2 separate regions of the Homo sapiens genome follow, and region 1 is linked to region 2. Evidence: promoter capture Hi-C in human tissues and cell types (Jung and others, 2019). All regions are on one chromosome and are shown on one strand. The core of a region is centred on a gene start or on the middle of the fragment in contact, and the rest is flanking DNA. Distances in the headings are between cores, read along the strand shown. Region 1 has its middle 16 kb from the start of LINC01077. Region 2 holds the start of ITM2B (integral membrane protein 2B).

What was found. The method cuts DNA at HindIII sites, captures the fragments that hold promoters and counts their contacts. A contact is called where the count stands out against the background at its distance.
Region 1: a fragment that was not itself captured here is called in contact with the fragment with the promoter of ITM2B in region 2 in 1 of the 25 tissues and cell types used here (mesenchymal stem cells).

What each region holds. Positions count from the first base shown.
Region 1 is chr13:48,605,426-48,608,125 of GRCh38, reverse strand. No RefSeq gene overlaps it. Among named protein-coding and RNA genes, the nearest start is that of LINC01077, 16 kb to the right of the region's middle. The HindIII fragment of the contact is 7,734 bases long and covers 1-2,700 here.
Region 2 is chr13:48,231,912-48,234,805 of GRCh38, reverse strand. It overlaps ITM2B (integral membrane protein 2B), which reads right to left and starts at 1,600. Exons shown (of 6, transcript NM_021999.5): 1 at 1,329-1,600. The coding sequence starts at 1,445. RefSeq lists an enhancer at 392-1,089 and silencers at 1,145-1,354, 1,365-1,724. The HindIII fragment of the contact is 16,899 bases long and covers 1-2,894 here.

The sequences.
Region 1 (2,700 bases), core at 115-2,614, 370 kb before region 2:
GGAAAGACTAAGAGGGAAGTTTACAGCTATAAGTGCTTACATCAAAAAAAAGGAAAAACTTCAAATAAACAATCCAATGATGCATCTTAAAGAACCAGAAAATCAAGAGCAAACCAAACCCAAAATTAGTAGAAGAAAAAAATAATAAAGATCAGAGCAGAAATAAATGAATTTGAAAATAAATAAACAATACAAAAGATCAATCAAATAAAAACTTTAAAAAACAAAAGACTGATAAATCTTTAGCCAGACCAACTAAAGAAAAATGAAAGAAGACCCCAAAAAATAAAATCAGAGAGGACAAGGAGACATAACAACTGATACTGCAGAAATTCAAATGATCATTAGTGGCTACTATGAGCAACCATATGCTAATAAATTGGAAAATCTAGAAGAAATTGATAAATTCCTAGAGACACACAACCTACCAAGATTGAACCATGAAGAAATCCAAAACCTGAACAGACTAATAGTAAGTAATTAGATCAAGGCCATAATAAAAAGTCTTCTAGTTAAGAAAAGCCCAGGACCCAATGGTGTTGCTGCTGGAGTCTACCAAACATTTAGAGAAGAACAAATACCAATCCTACTCAAGTTGTTCTAAAAAACAAAGGAGAGAGGAATATTTCCAAACTCATTCTACAATGCCAGTATTACTCTGATACCAAAACGCAAGGAAGTCAAATTTTAAAAAAGAAAACTATAGGCCAATATCACTGATGAATATTGAGGCAAAAACTTTCAACAAAATACTAGCAAACCGAATTCAACAACACAATAAAAAAAAGGTCATTCATCATGACCAAGTGGGCTTTATCTCAGGGATGCAAGGATGGTTCAACATATGCAAATCAATTAATGTGATACATCATATCAACAGAATGAAGGACAAAAACAATATGATTGTTTCAATTGATGCTGAAAAAGTATTTGACACAATTCAACATCCTGACATGATTAAAAAAAAACCGTCAAAAAACTGGATATAGAAAGAACATACCTCAAAATAATAAAAGCTATATTTGACAGACCCACAGCTAGTATCATATTGAATGGGGAAAAACTGAGACCCTTTCCTCTAAGATTGGGAACATGACAAGAATGCCCACTGTCACCAATGTTATTCAACACGGTACTGGAAGTCCCAGCTAGAGGAACTAGACAAGAGAAAAAAATAAAGGGCATCCAGCCAGGCATGGTGGCTCATGCCTGTAATCCCAGCACTTTGGGAGGTTGAGTCAGGCAGATCACTTGAGGTCAGGAGTTTGAGACCAGCCCAGCCAACATGGTGAAACCTCATCTCTACTTAAAATACAAAAATTAGCCAGGTGTGATGGCAGGTGCCTATAATGTCAGCTACTTGGGAGGCTGAGGCAGGAGAATTGCTTGTACCCGGGAGGCAGAGTTTCCAGTGAGCCTATACCTCACCACTGCACTCCAGCCTGGGTGACAGAGCGAAACTCTATCTCAAAAACGAAAGAAAGAAAGGGCATCCAAATTAGAAAGGAAGAAGTCAAATTTTCCTTGTTTTAAGATGACATGATCTTATATTTGGAAAAACCTAAAGACGCCACCAAAAAACCACTAAAACTGATAAGCAAATTCAGTAAATTTGCAAGATACAAAATGAATATATAAAAATCAGTAGCATTTCTATATATCAACAGCAAACAATCTGAAAAAGAACCAAGAAAGTAATCCCATTTACAATAGCCACAAATAAAATAAAACACCTAGCAATTAACTTAAACAAAGAAGTAAAAAATATCTACATTGAAAACTATAAAACATTGATGCAAGAAATTGAAGAGGACACACAAAAAATGGAAAAATATTCCATGTCATAGGATTGGAAGAATTAATATTGCTAAAATGTCCATACTACCCAAAGCAATCTATAGATTTCATACAATTTCTATCAAAATACCAATAACATTCTTCACACAAATAGTAAAAACAATCCTAAAATTTATATGGAACCACAAAAGACCTAGAATAGGCAAAGCTATCCTAAGCAAAAAGTATGAAACTGGAGGAATCACATTACCTGACTTTAAATTATACTACAGAGCTACAGTAATCAAAATGGTATGGTACTGGCACAAAAACAGACGCAATGACCAGAGGAACAGAATAGAGAACCCAGAAATAAATCCATACATCTACAGTGAACTCATTTTTGACAAAGGTGCCAAGAACATACAGTGGGGAAAAGACAGTCTCTTCAATAAATGATACTGGAAAAAACAGACATCCATAGGAAGAAGAATGAAACTAGACCCCTATCTCTCACTATATACAAAAATCAAATCAAAATGGATTAAAGACTTAAATCTAAGACCTCAAACTATGACAACCAAAGAAAAAACTGAACAAATGAGATCACATCAAATTAAAAAGCTTTCACACAGCAAAGAAAACAATCAATAAAGTGAAGAGACAAGAATAGGAGGAAATATTTGCAAACTACCCACCTGACAAAGGATTAATAGCCAGAATGTATTAGGAACTCAAACGACTCTGTAGGAAAAATCTACTAATTTGTTTTAAAATGGACAAAAGATCTGAATAGACATTTCTCAAAAAAAGATATACATATTGCAAACAGGTATATGAAAAGGTGCTCAACATCATTGATCATCAAAGAAATGCAAATCAAAACTACAATGAGATGTCTCACTCCAGTTAAAATGGCTTTTA
Region 2 (2,894 bases), core at 351-2,850:
AAACCTTTAATCCTTTTAGGGAATCAGTTCACTGTTCCTATTTCAAGGCAAGGCAAGTCATTTAGAAATCAACCTCTGACGTGTCTGTTTTTATCAGAACATTTCCAGAAAGTAAGATTACCATTATATTCTGAAGATAGATTATATTCAGAATATAATAAATTATAATATGATGTCTAGATTACCATTATATTGTGAATTTTTTACAGTATATTAGTGGCCTGTTTTTCAGCAATAATTTTCATTCGTCCATATAAAAACTCCCATTATTCATACGTGGCACACCAATTTTTTTAAGTTAAAACTAAATTTACCCTACTGATAATAGGTCTTGAAAAATGCTAACAACAACAAAAAATAAGATAAGCAACATAACTTTACAGTTAATTTCTAATTTTTGCAGCCTAAAAAGGGTCTGGGTAAGAGGCTGTGGGCTTTTTTAACTTATGAGACAATTACACTCATATTTAAGTAAATATGATCGTAACCTACTAAAAGTCAACACAGTAACAGCCCCACTTCATGAATTTTCCTAGGATTAAAGGGAGATTTTGTAAAATAAAGGAGAATTTTATTAGGGACCCGGGGGCAAATTTCTCATGTTTAGTTTCACGCAGCAGGAGTCCTCACAAAGACGCTGATACAATTTAAATGCCAACAATTGGTTTTTCACTAACATCCACATAGTCATTACTGGCCTTTACTAGTAATGGTAAGAGACAGCCCAAACCTACTTCGGGCGGACTGTCCCTTCGTCCCCTCTCCAGGTGAAGTTCACCTGCCACTACCGAAGGGCCGTGGAAAAAGGAGGTAAAGAAACGCTTTTAAAATTAAGACGCTTACAGTTGCTGGACTTAGTCCAAGTGCTGTTCAAGCCTAGAAACGAAAGTGGGAAACAACAGAGGTTTAGGCTTGTAATGATGTCAGCCATTTTAGGTACATTATTTATACTGGGAAGGAAGTGCCAAACTCGGTTGTTGTTGTTGTGCCTGTCGCTGCCGGTCCCCAGATCGAACAAGCCAAGTCCTGGCTGCACGCACGCTCCCCGGACTGCACAAACGACCGGGAATTCGGCACAATTAGCCAATCGTTCCCTCTCCAGGCCTCCCAAGCCCCCGACCCCGCGTCAGGCACCGCTTCCAGCACACGCACTTCCTTACAAAGGAGCTGCGGACCCACAGGAAACGGGAGCGCCGGGCTCTCTCGGGGACTTGTCCCCGCGGCGCGAGCCCCGCGCCCGCCACCTCGGGGCGCACTGCCGCTGCAGTCCGCGCAGCCCTCCCCGGCCGGGCCCAGCACCCGCTTCCTCGACCTCCCCGGGCTCGGACCTTGCAGTCCACCGCGACGGCGTCGGGGGGGATGATGAGCGCCTCCTCGCCGCTCTTGGGCTCGTCCTTCTTGGCCTCCTTCTGGGCCAGAGCGGAGTTGAACGTCACCTTCACCATGGCGCGGCCTGGGGCGCCCTCGAAGGGCGGCGGCGGGCTCGGGGCGCGGGCTGCGGGCTCCCGGCTGCGATTGCAGCCTCTACGGCCGGGCTCCGGGAGCGGCTCCGGGCGGCTGAAGAGGTTCGGGAAGCTCCGCGGCGGCAGAGGCGGCTACTGCGGTAGGGATCTCGCAGCCTCCCAGCTCCCGCGCGAGGGCGGAGACTGCTCGCACATCCCCTGGGAGGCGGGGCGGGGGCGGGGGCGGGGCCAGCGGCCGGGGGTGGGGTGCTGCGCGGGACCCTGCCCTCGCCCCGCAGCTGGGCGCCGGATCCCGGCGCGCCTCGGAGAGGGATGGGTGTCCCTCTGGGCCGCCTGGAATTTCCAGTTCTGAATTCGCTCCCAACCAGGTTACCTCCAGGCCGAGTGCTGCAGGTTTGTAGCGAAATCGAGTGAACTTTCCTGAGTTCGCCGGGTACAAGGGACTAACCTTTGGCAGCACCAGACCGCCGCTTCCCTGTACCCTGTCCCCACCGCGAGCCTAAAGGCCATGGAATTTTTGTGCATCCACATCTTCATTTTCTCACTTATTAGGTAACCGACTCAGTGGAGCACAAACATGTTTAAAGCTCTCTGTCCTTGAGATCTGACTTTATCTTTCACGGACCTCACCCAAGGGCGTTTACCTGGCTCAGACCTGCCTGGTCTTCCTTCCCTCTCTCAGGAGGTCAGGGCCTGTTCTGCCTAGTCCCAGACCAATGTGGAGGAAGCTCTTGGCAGATTTGTATTTCAAACATCTCACACTCGTAAAACGAAATGTTCCACTCTTGTGCGTACTTGGAAAAAAACCACATGCACACTTGGCTGATTTGTGACTCAAAGTACTCGATGACGAGTCCCTTTATTTTTCTGCAAAATGAAAAAATAATTAAGGATAACGCAAAATTCTCATGTTTTGAAGACGTTTCATTTACAACTAATGCGAGGTAGAATACTGGCTCCCGTCGTTACTGCGTTCATTACTGTGTCAACAGACGGCCCCCTTGGACAAATGTGTTATCTTGTATCCTTCCACCCCATTCTGTCCTGGTTCATCCAGAGTTGTGGGTGTGCTCTAGAATGTTACAGCTGTGTCAGCTCTGCCTTGGGCCAACCCTGAAAAAAGTGGGTTCAGTCTGAGATCTTTGGGGATTTGGCCCTGCTCAAGGAGGGAGTTGGGTATTTCCATAGAATGTCAGATCATAAGTCCCAGGGAAACAGCCCAAGATCTCCAAATCCTTCTGTTCATGTATTTCAGAAGCATCCTGGGCTGAGATAGAAACCCAGGCCAGACTTTGAGTTTGCTTTGGGTATTCAGAAATTCCTGTCAAAATGAAATCTGCTCAACCAAGAGGAGGATGAGTTAGGTTCCAGTTCTGGTGAGTTTTAACAGTAGCTAACCATACTTGCAGCAACTTATTTAAACTCCTGGGT